Regions from separate parts of the Homo sapiens genome. Here region 1 is linked to region 2. Evidence: promoter capture Hi-C in human tissues and cell types (Jung and others, 2019). All regions are on one chromosome and are shown on one strand. Each heading gives the region's core, a stretch centred on a gene start or on the middle of the fragment in contact. The rest is flanking DNA. Distances are from core to core; before and after follow the strand shown. Region 1 holds the start of BTRC (beta-transducin repeat containing E3 ubiquitin protein ligase). Region 2 holds the start of HPS6 (HPS6 biogenesis of lysosomal organelles complex 2 subunit 3).

The links. The method cuts DNA at HindIII sites, captures the fragments that hold promoters and counts their contacts. A contact is called where the count stands out against the background at its distance.
Region 1: the fragment with the promoter of BTRC here is called in contact with the fragment with the promoter of HPS6 in region 2 in 1 of the 25 tissues and cell types used here (heart left ventricle).

The regions. Positions count from the first base shown.
Region 1 is chr10:101,351,375-101,356,709 of GRCh38, reverse strand. BTRC (beta-transducin repeat containing E3 ubiquitin protein ligase) reads right to left here and starts at 2,545. Exons shown (of 15, transcript NM_033637.4): 1 at 2,482-2,545. The coding sequence starts at 2,529. RefSeq lists a silencer at 2,322-2,501 and an enhancer at 4,770-5,335. The HindIII fragment of the contact is 8,909 bases long and covers 37-5,335 here.
Region 2 is chr10:102,062,174-102,067,426 of GRCh38, reverse strand. HPS6 (HPS6 biogenesis of lysosomal organelles complex 2 subunit 3) reads right to left here and starts at 2,078. Exons shown (of 1, transcript NM_024747.6): 1 at 1-2,078. The coding sequence starts at 1,952. RefSeq lists a silencer at 1,657-2,326 and an enhancer at 2,537-2,586. The HindIII fragment of the contact is 30,919 bases long and covers 1-5,253 here.

The DNA.
Region 1 (5,335 bases), core at 1,296-3,795, 710 kb after region 2:
TTCTCTGTTTCTTTTATTAAGGTGTCATTCTGGTGACCCTCTTCTAGTTGACCTTTTCTCAAATGGCAGCCAAAACAGCAGGCAAGGTCAATAATGAAAGTAACTAAAATTAAAAGAAAAAATTGGCTTCTCCCTATGAAAACTGATTCAAGATTTAATAATGTGTGGTGCTCTAAAAGCTGCAACTACTATATGGTCATCTCCAAGTCCACTTTAACTCAACCAGGGAGGCCATTATCAAAACATAACTCACTGGTACAAAGCAGAGATTAAGTAGCTGAGAATGTTACTAGGCTGAAGTCTAACTGAGAGTAAAAAGGATGATCTCATAATGTCTCTTTATGATCTGTAAATCACATTATTCCATAAATCTGACACAAATGTCAGGATTAGGATTAAGAGTCAACCCTCTGCTGGGCGCTGTGGCTCACACCTGAAATCCCAGCACTTTGGGAGGCCAAGGTGGGCGGATCACGAGGTCAGGAGATGAGACCATCCTGGCCAACATAGTGAAACCCCGACTCTACTAAAAATAAAAAATTAGATGGGCGTGGTGGCCCACACCTGTAGTTCTAGCTACTCGGGAGGCTGAGGCAGGAGAATCGCTTGAACCCAGGAGGCGGAGGCTGCACCACTGCACTCCAGCCTGGGCGACAAAGCAAGACTCCATCTCAAAAGAAGAAAAAAAGGAGTCAACCCTCTAAGTAGGAAAACAAAAATAAGCAGTAACAGTTTTCTAACTTAAGTGTAGTAACTTTCACTTACTTCTAAAGTCCAGTAAAAGTTCAAGGTCTCTTCTTCATATTTAGAATTTTAATGTTGGGCAGAAATCCAAGAACCTTCTTCAGGCTCAATGAAATTTTGTTAATGATACCCCTGAATTTTAATTAGGTGTTTTCGAAAACACTAATGCAAGATAAAGTTTTAGTGAATTTGACTAGATTCCAAAAAAGTATTCTTATAAATGGGGCAGTTTAAAGTCTAAAATTCAATTTTGTTAGTATCCATGTTTATCTGGATTTGTTACGGTATTTTAGGCAAAGATACAAAATAGCTATTTTTTTAAGCAAAGGAGTAAGATTTGGAGTGACAAGTCACAATAACTTCTGAAAAAGCAAGACTGGACTGCAAATAATATCAATGTCCCTAAGGCCACCTGTTAAGCTTAAAATCTATGCATTCCATCATTCTTTAGTTGTAACCACAAAGTCTGGTTTTACACCTAGGAAATACAAAAAGCATCAGATTAAAAGCATCAAATATCAGACTATACGAGTTTGCCAAAGATAAGCACAGCAAAAAGAAAAGCGTGATACAAAGTTAAAGAAATATGTTCCAAGGGGTTTAAGCACACCCACAAAATCCAATCTTTGCTCACACTGTGCTTCAACCTAAAACTGACGGGTAACCACAAATCCTGACTTATCCCTGACTTACTTCCCTCTACCAACCTCCACCCTTTTTATCTCCTAAATTTCTCAACTGATCTCATCACTTCTTATGGGTCTTTGCAACTCTCATCTCCACGGCCTTTCCTTTCCCAGAAAATGATACAAAGCACCTGGCCTCCACATTTTACCGTCCCACAATTTACCTTTAAATTTTGTTTTGCTTACCCTATTAGATACTCATTTTGCCCCAATCTCCTGTACCCATGTTTCCCTGACAATCTGCTCTTACTTTTCATCACCTTGTCCTTATTACAGTATTTAGCTTCTCCTTTCAAAGTAGCGTTATGTACCCCTCCCTGACATTTGTAATTCTAGCTTACAGTCAACACCCTTTTCCCCTCCCAGGGACTGTCATTATAGCCCTAGGTCCTCATTCCCAGTCCTTATCTTCTTTAGTGAGGCCTCTTCCCTTCCAGAGTTTGTCAACAGTAGTTTGGCCAAGCTGGGATTCCACCCTCAAGGCAAAGGCTATCCTCCCTCCTCATTCTACAAAACTATAAGCCTCTCACCAGCCCTAGCGTTCCCTCCTCCACCCTTAAATCCATCTGCATCCAGCCCTGCCCGTTCCCCTCTACCCACCGTATCTGTCTTCACTCTATCCCGCGCTCCCTTCCCCAGTCGTGAATGCACCTCCTCTCCCGGGCCTTACCGGTAACCCTGACACCAGGAAGGCCCCGCCAGCGGCCTCACGGCGTTTCTCCAGAGAGCTTCCTCCGCTTTTCAGTAACAGTCCCCACGCCCCTTTCCCTCCAGGGCCCCGCGCGCCGCCTGGAGCCCCCTCCTCGATTAAGCTCCCGCTGTCACTTGGCCTCTCATCCACAAGATGGCGGAGCCGCTGCCCCCACCCCTGGGTCCGCTCCGCAACCCCCAGCCTCCTTTCTGGAGCTCCCATCCCATCCCTCCAGCCGCTCCGCCGCCAGCCTCGGCCCAGGGTCCCGCTGCCCGGTCCCGCAGTGGGCGGGCGGCCCAGGCCAGCGACGCCGCCAACGCCAGCGCCTCCACCGTTCCCCGGCCTCCACCGTCTCCTCACCATAAACTTGAGTGCCTTCTCTTGCAGCACCGCCTCGGCCGGGTCCATAATCGCCGAGGCCACTGGGTCCGCTCTCCGCCGGGGCCGCCCCTTTGGTGCCAGGCCGCAGCCAACGCAGCGCCCGGATCCCGCCTCCTCTTCCTTCCCCCCGCCCTCTCTTACCTCTCAGGCGCAGGCTGAGGGGCCAAGGAGAATCGGCTTCTCCGTGCGCAGGCGAAAGCCCACTGGCTCACGGGATTTGTAGTTCTGGAACTTCCCCCAGGAAAAAAACTGAGGCTACGCCGTGAACCGCAACTCCCACAGTTCACTGCGGCAGCGTTGCGGTTGCCCACAAGCCAGATTTAGATAAGTTGCCATTACGCAGAGGAAATCGGCTGATGGGAATTGTAGTTTACAGCCTCTAAGGATGAGAAACGGGAGGGGCACGGGTGTCTCCGTGGTTACCGAGCGACGCCAGTAGCGGCTTGCCTGGCATTTGATATCAAGATGGCGGCCAATGCCTCACTTGTAGCCCAAATACTAAGAAAAACTGTGGCAAGAATCACGGGTCCTAGGACCTGCCTAACTGTGGTTTTAGGAAGCTGAACGTCCCCAAATTTCATGTATCTGGCATCTGCAGGTTTGCGACCCAGAGTAGCTGGGCCAATGGGCACCTGGCAGCAGCTCACAGACAAATGCGGAATTTCAAGGTCCTCCTAAGCCATCGCCACCCACACTTCTCCCGAGGAATCTTTTCTCCCCCACAGCAAGTCAGGGCCGAATAGAACTCGGTTCAAGAAATTCTCAGTGTTTAGAGCTCAAAAAGCACATAACTTGCTATTGCTAACTGTGGGATGTAAGCCCTGCACTAAGGGTCAAACAGGTACTTAACAAAAGTCCTTCAACGGTGGAATATAATGGCCTCCAGCAAATAAAGCATATAAATATTTTCTTTGGCCTGAAAAGGTACAATATGGGTTTATTTTGGAAATTGGGTCTACCTTAGGAGGAGAAAACTCTAGGGTTTGGTTAAAAGTGATTTAGGTTGTTTTAAGCTGCTATGTTTGTGATAATTGGTTATACAGCCTAAAAAACTGACACACACCCAAATGCCCCTCAGCAGGTGGTTGTATGAACAAATTGTAGCATATTCCATATGTAGCACAGTGGAATATTACTTAGCAATGAAAAAGAACAGTATAACAACAACAACAACAACAAAAGTGATTTAGGGCCAGGCGCGGTGACTGACGCTTGTAATCCCAGCACTGTGGGAGGCTAAGGCGGGTGGATCACCTGAGGTCAGGAGTTCGAGACGAGCCTGGCCAACATGGAGAAACCCCCGTCTCTACTAAAAATACAAAAATTAGTCGGGCCTGGTGGCACGCGCCTGTAATTCAAGCTACTCGGCAGGCTGAGGCATGAGAATTGCTTGAACCCGGGAGGCGGAAGTTGCAGTGAGCCGAGATCACGCTACTGCACTCCAGGCTGGGCAACAGAACGAGACTCTGTCTAAAAAAAAAAAAAAAAAAAAGTGAGTTAGATTGTGACAGCCTTGTACAAAATATCTGAATTTATAAAATAAATGAACTAGGAAAATACTTTTTGACTTATAGGAAAAAATCTCCATTTTAAACTATCTTATTCACTCAGTCATCCAACAAATGGTAAGCATATAACCGTGTGCAGACATCATCTCAAGAAATAGGGATTCATCACTACTTGGGTGGCTAAAATATCAGACTTCACCACTATAATTCATCTATATAACCAAAAACCACTTGTACCCCAAAAACTATTGAAATAAAAATAAAAGTAATTAATTAAACAAAAAGAAAAAGGAATGGGGATTCATTAATGAACAAGACAGACCCAGTTATTTCCTCGTGGAGCTTACACTTTTACTCTGTTGATACTTTGTCCTAGCCCCTATATCCACAAAACTCAGCATGATACTTAATACATAATAGGCTTTCAGTTAATAAAAAGTTTTGTTCTTGAATTTTTAAAAAAATTCTACACAAGTGCAAAATGGAGAAGACTTCAAACGCATTCGTATGAAAACTAGCTGGAGGTTTTCAGAGGACTAAGGCAGTAACAGGATGGAGTTACAAAAAAAATAAATAAATAAATAAATGAAAAGATAAGGTGGGATGATGGTGCAGCCACTGGAAAAGAGTATTCCAGGCAAAGGTAACTGCATTTTTGGTGATTGATTCTGAGAACCAAAACAAGATCAGTGGGACTTTAGAGGAAGAGTGGCCCTAGATGAGACTGCAGAAGAGTATGGGGCTCTATAGGCAAGCCATTATTTAGCCGGCATAAACTGGTCAGATAAATCAGCTGACATGCTTTCTAAACTGGCATCAGGGCCTGTACCTTACCAGATATAAAATACCTTGACTTTCACTCCAGCTTATAGGCCAAGTTCAGTCATTTAGACTGTATCCTGAGAGCTGTGAGAAACTAGCTGAACAATTTAAAAAATGGTCAGATTTGCATTTTCAGAAAATCACTCAGAGTCCAGGGTGGAGGAGAGATTAAAATGGAGCACAGCTGGAAGCTTGGGGAAAGGATTATGAGGTTGCTGAAATATTCCTGGGAGAGATGATGGCAGCCTGAATGTGGTGGTGAGAACAGAAAGAAGTAGATGGATTCCAGAGATACTAAGAAGATAGAATCAGTGGAGTATGGTGATTGATTAGATGTGTCATGGATGATGTCAAAAGGATGTGTCAAAGATGACTTCTATGTATCTGGCTCAGGTAATGAATGAGGGATGCCATATATATGTATTTTTTTCTTTTTTTTGACAGAAAGCACAGTAGAAGTGGTAGGAGGATAATCAGTTCTCTTTTTGGACATATTGCTTCAA
Region 2 (5,253 bases), core at 829-3,328:
CGATCCCATTGTTCCTTTTGCACCAGCTGCCCGACAGCTTGGAGCACAGCTTTAGGCCGCCCACTGCTCAAGAGCAGCTCTAGCTCCAGAGCCTCAGGCCTGGTCCCCTCCTCACCTAGCACTGCCAGAGCTCGGCGATACAGGGGCAGTCCTGGGCCCCCTGCCCCCCAGCCCGGCCCGCCCTGCTGCTGTGCCAGCTCCACAAAGGGTGGCAGCCATCGAGGCTCCAGCTGGCACAGACACTGGCACAGGAGTTCAAAGGGGGGCAGTATTCCATTGGGGGGTTCCTTTCCAGCGGTTATTCCCCCTAACACTTTCTTCCACACATCAGGGGGTGCTTGGGACCTCAGCTTGCCATTCCCATCTAGCTGGAGCTGCAGGGCCCTGAGGGTGGCACCCCAGGCTGCTGTAGGAAGGGCTTGGAAAACGGTGTTGAGCTGGGCTAGCTGGTCTCCTATCAACTCAGTCCTCAGCAGGCGTGCCACTTCCTGCTCCGCCAGCTCAGTCCAACCAGCCTCCTCATCATCCCCAGCCACCAGCTGGGCCTTCAGCTGTTCTAAGCCTCGGTAATCCCGAAGCTCGGTCCTCAACATGGTCAGCAGTGCAGATGGGGGCAGGTGGCCCTGGAGGATGGAGGCCAGAGCCTGAGGTGCCCGGAATGTGCTGCTGTGTCTCAGTTCTTCTGGAGTGAGCTGGGCACCCCGCAGGCTCCGCCGCTGGTAGTACCCGCAGGCCTCCTCAAACACCAGATCCTTGGCTGAAGGCAACTCAACACCCTGTGGGGCTTCCCAGCCCACACAAAACAGACCCAAGGCTGAAAGCAGACGAAGATTCCCTCGGGTCTCCAGCTCTTCCTCATCCTCCATGCCGGGGGCTGGCGGTTCTAGCAGATGTACCCTGTCTGTACTTAGGACCTTCCTCTCCAGCAGCTGCCCACTGCCCATGTCCAGCAGTTCCAATGTGGAGCCCAGCACACAGGCCAGAGTGCCCTGAAATGTGCCTAGGGCTGCAGACCCCCACGGGCCTACAGGTGCCTCCTGCAGGGTGCCCACAGCCCGCGTACCACCGTGGGACTGCAATAGGCTCACAGTGCCCCCGAAGTCAAGCAACAGCAGGCCCTGGGGAGTTGGGGCCCAGGTGTGTACAGCCAGTGGCTCCCTGGGGGACAGCAACCCAGGAAGGCCTCGGAGCAGGGTCCGGAAGTCCCATGTGTCCCCTCGTCCAGGATTCAGACTCTTACTGTAGGAGAGACCAAGCCGTGGGGCAGCCACCATCACTTTGCCCTTGCCTGGGCTCCAGATGAGTAGAACGTGGGCCACGCCAGGCCAGGTGGTGGCAGTGGGCACCAGGAAGAGTTGTCTGCAGGAGGCCAGCAGCCCGAAGGCAGGGCAGTGGTGCAGCAGGACGTGTGTGCGGCCCAGGCTGGTGCTAGCTTCCCCGCTGGGCTCCAGAGTCCGGACGCACACACAGTGGCTGAAAGCGGCTGCTGGCGACCCTGACGGGCCCTCGGCCCGGGCCTGCCGCTCCTCGCACCACACCAGGCGGCCTCGGAGCGCCGCCACTGCCACAACGCGGGCTCCCCCGCCCGGACACAGCTCGGTGCTCTGCAGCGGCCGCCAGCCAGGCCCCACGCCCGCGCCCCACACCTCGGCCAGGCCACTCTCCCACACCAGCACCAGCGCCGGCCGCGCTGGCCACGGCAGGAAGAAGGCGTCCAGCGGGGAGGGCTGGCCGGCCGGCCAGGCCCGCTCTAGCTCCGCGCCGGGCCCTCGCGACGCGACTAGCAGCTGTGGGGCTACCGCCCCAGGGGGTCGCAGGAGCAGCAAGTGGCGGCCGTCCGGACTGCCACGGACTCGGACCGCTGAGTCCCCGGCCACCAGCTCCCGGAGCCGCGCCGCGCCGCCGAAGGCGCTCAGGTCCGAGAGCAGCCGCAGAGTCCCCGAGCGCTTCATGGCGCCGCTGCGCGGGAGCGCGCCCAGGCTTTGCCCAGGTCCAGCCGCCCAGCAGGGCGAGGCCCGATTCTCGGGGGAGCGGAGCAGGGCCAAGACTTCCGTCTCCCGTGGATGAGGTGAGCAGAGGCCGGGCCGAGCGTCGACTCCGCCCCGCCCGGCCGGCTCCGGGATGCCTCCCGCAGTCGCTGGGCCGACACTACACGCCCGCCGGGGGAGGAGCCACGGGAGCGCCCCAGGGGCTCAGCGCCTGGACCGCGCCCGCCCGGGCACGCTCTCGGCGCAGGGGGAGGCCCTTCCCCAGACCCCAGGACGCCGCCCAGTGGCCCGGAGTCCCACGCAGGAATAGGGATTCCAGCCCCCTGAGCCCCTCTCCCAAGAATTTCACCCCAATTTACTCATTCAGGAAATTTTCGTTGAGCACATGCTTTGTGCCAGGCTCTGAGTAGACAGCCCTAAACAAAATAGAAAACCTCAACCTCATGGAGATGACAATCTAGTGGAAATAGTAAACATGGCTGGGCGCGGTGGCTCACGCCTATAATCTTAGCACTTTGGGAGGCTGAGGTGGGAGGATTGCTTGAGGCCAGGCGTTCGAGACCAGCCTGAGCAACATAGGCAGACCTTGTCTCTATAAAAATTTTAAAAAGACAGAAAGAAAGAAAGAGAGAGAGAGAGAAGGAAGGAAGGAAAGAAAACCACTTCCATATCACTATGTGACAGCCTTCTCTATCCCCTAGTCCCTTTTACAGATAAGGAGGATGAAGCACAGAGAGATTACGTAACTTAACTAAGATCAAGCAGGTATTAAGTGGTGGAGGTGGGATTTCAACCACAGGCACTCTGGCTCCAGAGTCAGTGCAACAAATCACTTTATCATATCAACAACTCATCACCCAAACCAAAACAGAGAAACATAATTTAGAAGCACTGAGCCTGTGTACCGACTCTTCAGTAACACCTACAAATTTGTATGCAGGGGTCCTTCCACCCCTTGACTGCCTTTTCAGGTGAGCAGTTTTCCTCCTCTCTCCAAGGCCAATCCCTCTTTATGAGCCCTGCCTCTCCTCCCCGGCCCCTACCTTCCTTGAGAACTTGCATCCATTTCTGTTTCACTGCCCTCATTCCGTCCTCAGCATAGAAATACCCTGTCATCTCTCCTGTCTTGGAATTCGTTCTTTCATCCTCATCTCCCCACTTCCACCTCCATCACTCCCTCCCCTTTTCCTTTCTCAGTCAATTTTCTTGCAAGGATGCTACATTTGCCACCTCCACTTTCTTTCCTTCTATCCTCAACCCACTACTTCCCTGAAGTAGCTTTTGCTGAGGTCTTCAAGGACATTTTTATTTGACAGCCTTCTCATTGAAAGTCCCTCCTGTGGTTTGCACTGCATCTTTCCTGGCTGGTTTTCCTTTCCTTTTATTTTATTTTATTTTTTTATTTTTATTTTTAGATAGCACTGCCTTCAGAGTTTTATTTGCCTTTGGTTCATCTTCCTCCATCCTTTATTGATTGATTGATTGAGATAGAGTCTCACTCTGTCGCCCACGTTTGAGTGAAGTGGCACCATCTTGGCTCAGTGCAACCTCTGCCTCCTGGGTTCAAGCGATTCTCCTGCCCAGCCTCCCGAGTAGCTGGGATTAGAGGCACCCACCACCACGCCCACCTAATTTTTGTATTTTCAGTAGAGACAGGGTTTCACCTTGCTGGCCGGGATGGTCTTGATCTCTTGACCTCGTGATCCACATGCCTTGGCCTCCCAAAGTGCTGGGATTACAGGCATGAGCCACCGTGCCTGGCCTATTTATTTATTTATTGAGACAGAGTCTTGCTCCGTTGCCCAGGTTGAAGTGCAGTGGCGCAATCTCGGCTCACTGCTATCTCCATGTCCCAGGTTCAAGCGATTCTCCTGCCTAAGCCTCCCTCCCTAGTAGCTGGGATTTCAGAAGTGCACCACCATGCCCAGCTACTTTTTATATTTTTAGTAGAGGTCGGGTTTTGCTATGTTGGTTGGCCAGGCTGGTCTCGAACTCCAGGCCTCAAGTGATCTGCCCGCCTTAGCCTCTCAAAATGTTAGAATTACAGGTGTGAGCCACTGTACCCGGCCCCTCCATCATCCTTTAAATGTGCTCTTCCTCCTATATCCTGATTCCACTTTGAGCCCCTTTATTTTTTTCTTTTGCCTACAGCTCAGACGTCTCTGCTAAGCTCCACACAAAAAAAGAGCATCCAAATGTCTACTAAATATTTATTTCTGCCTAAGATGTCTCATCTCACAGACATTTCATTCTCAACATGTCCTAAACATCATCTTCCTGCCCCAAACTGCTCCTCCTTCAGTTGCTCTTAGTTGACATAGATTTCTTTTGTTTTTGTATCCTATCCTCATATTTAGAGTAGAGCCTGACACAAAGTCTCCACAGATGTTTGGTGAAGGAATCATTACGTTTTCATGGGCACATGTTTGTGTGTGTGATATCACTTAGAAAACTTTTCCTTAAAAATTACAGAAGTAGGCCAGGCACGGTGGTTCACGCATGCAGTTCCAGCTACTCAGGAGGCTGAGGCAAGAGGATTACTTGAGGCCAGGAGTTGGAGTCTGTGGTGTGCAATGATTGTGCCTGTGAATAGCCACTGCACTACAGCCTGGGCAACATGGCAAGCATCCTGTCTCTTTAAAAAAAAAAATTACAGAAACAGACCATGGCTGTCTTAAGCAAAAATGAAGTTATTTAGAAGAACATAGGGGACTCACAGAATCTTCAGGAGAAAGGAAGAACAGGTGTGGCAAATGGTCATGAACCAAGACACCCACACCCACCAAATACTAAGAAGTAGGAAGCACGACTTTTTTTTTTTTTTTTTTAGACAGAGTCTTGCTGTCTCCCCAGGCTGGAGTGCAGTGGCACAATCTTGGCTCACTGCAACCTCTGCCTCCTGGGATCAAGCAATTCTTCCACCTCAGCCTCCCGAGTAGCTGGTATCACAGGTGCACACCACCATGCCCTGCTAATTTTTGTATTTTTTGTAGAGACGGGGTTTTGCCATGTTGGCCAGGCTGGTCTTGAAGGTCCTGGCCTCAGGTGATCCACCTGCCTCGGCCTCCCAAAGTGCTGGGATTACAGGTATGAGCCACTGTGCCTGGCCACAACTGTTTTTTTAGCCGGAACAATTTGTTAAAGATACCATGATCTCTGGTGCTATACAAGCTGATCACTGCACTGGAAGACAGCACCTGTTATGAATAAATTCTGATCATACCTTCTATTGGGGTTCACCTCATTACACCTTTCTCTTACACCT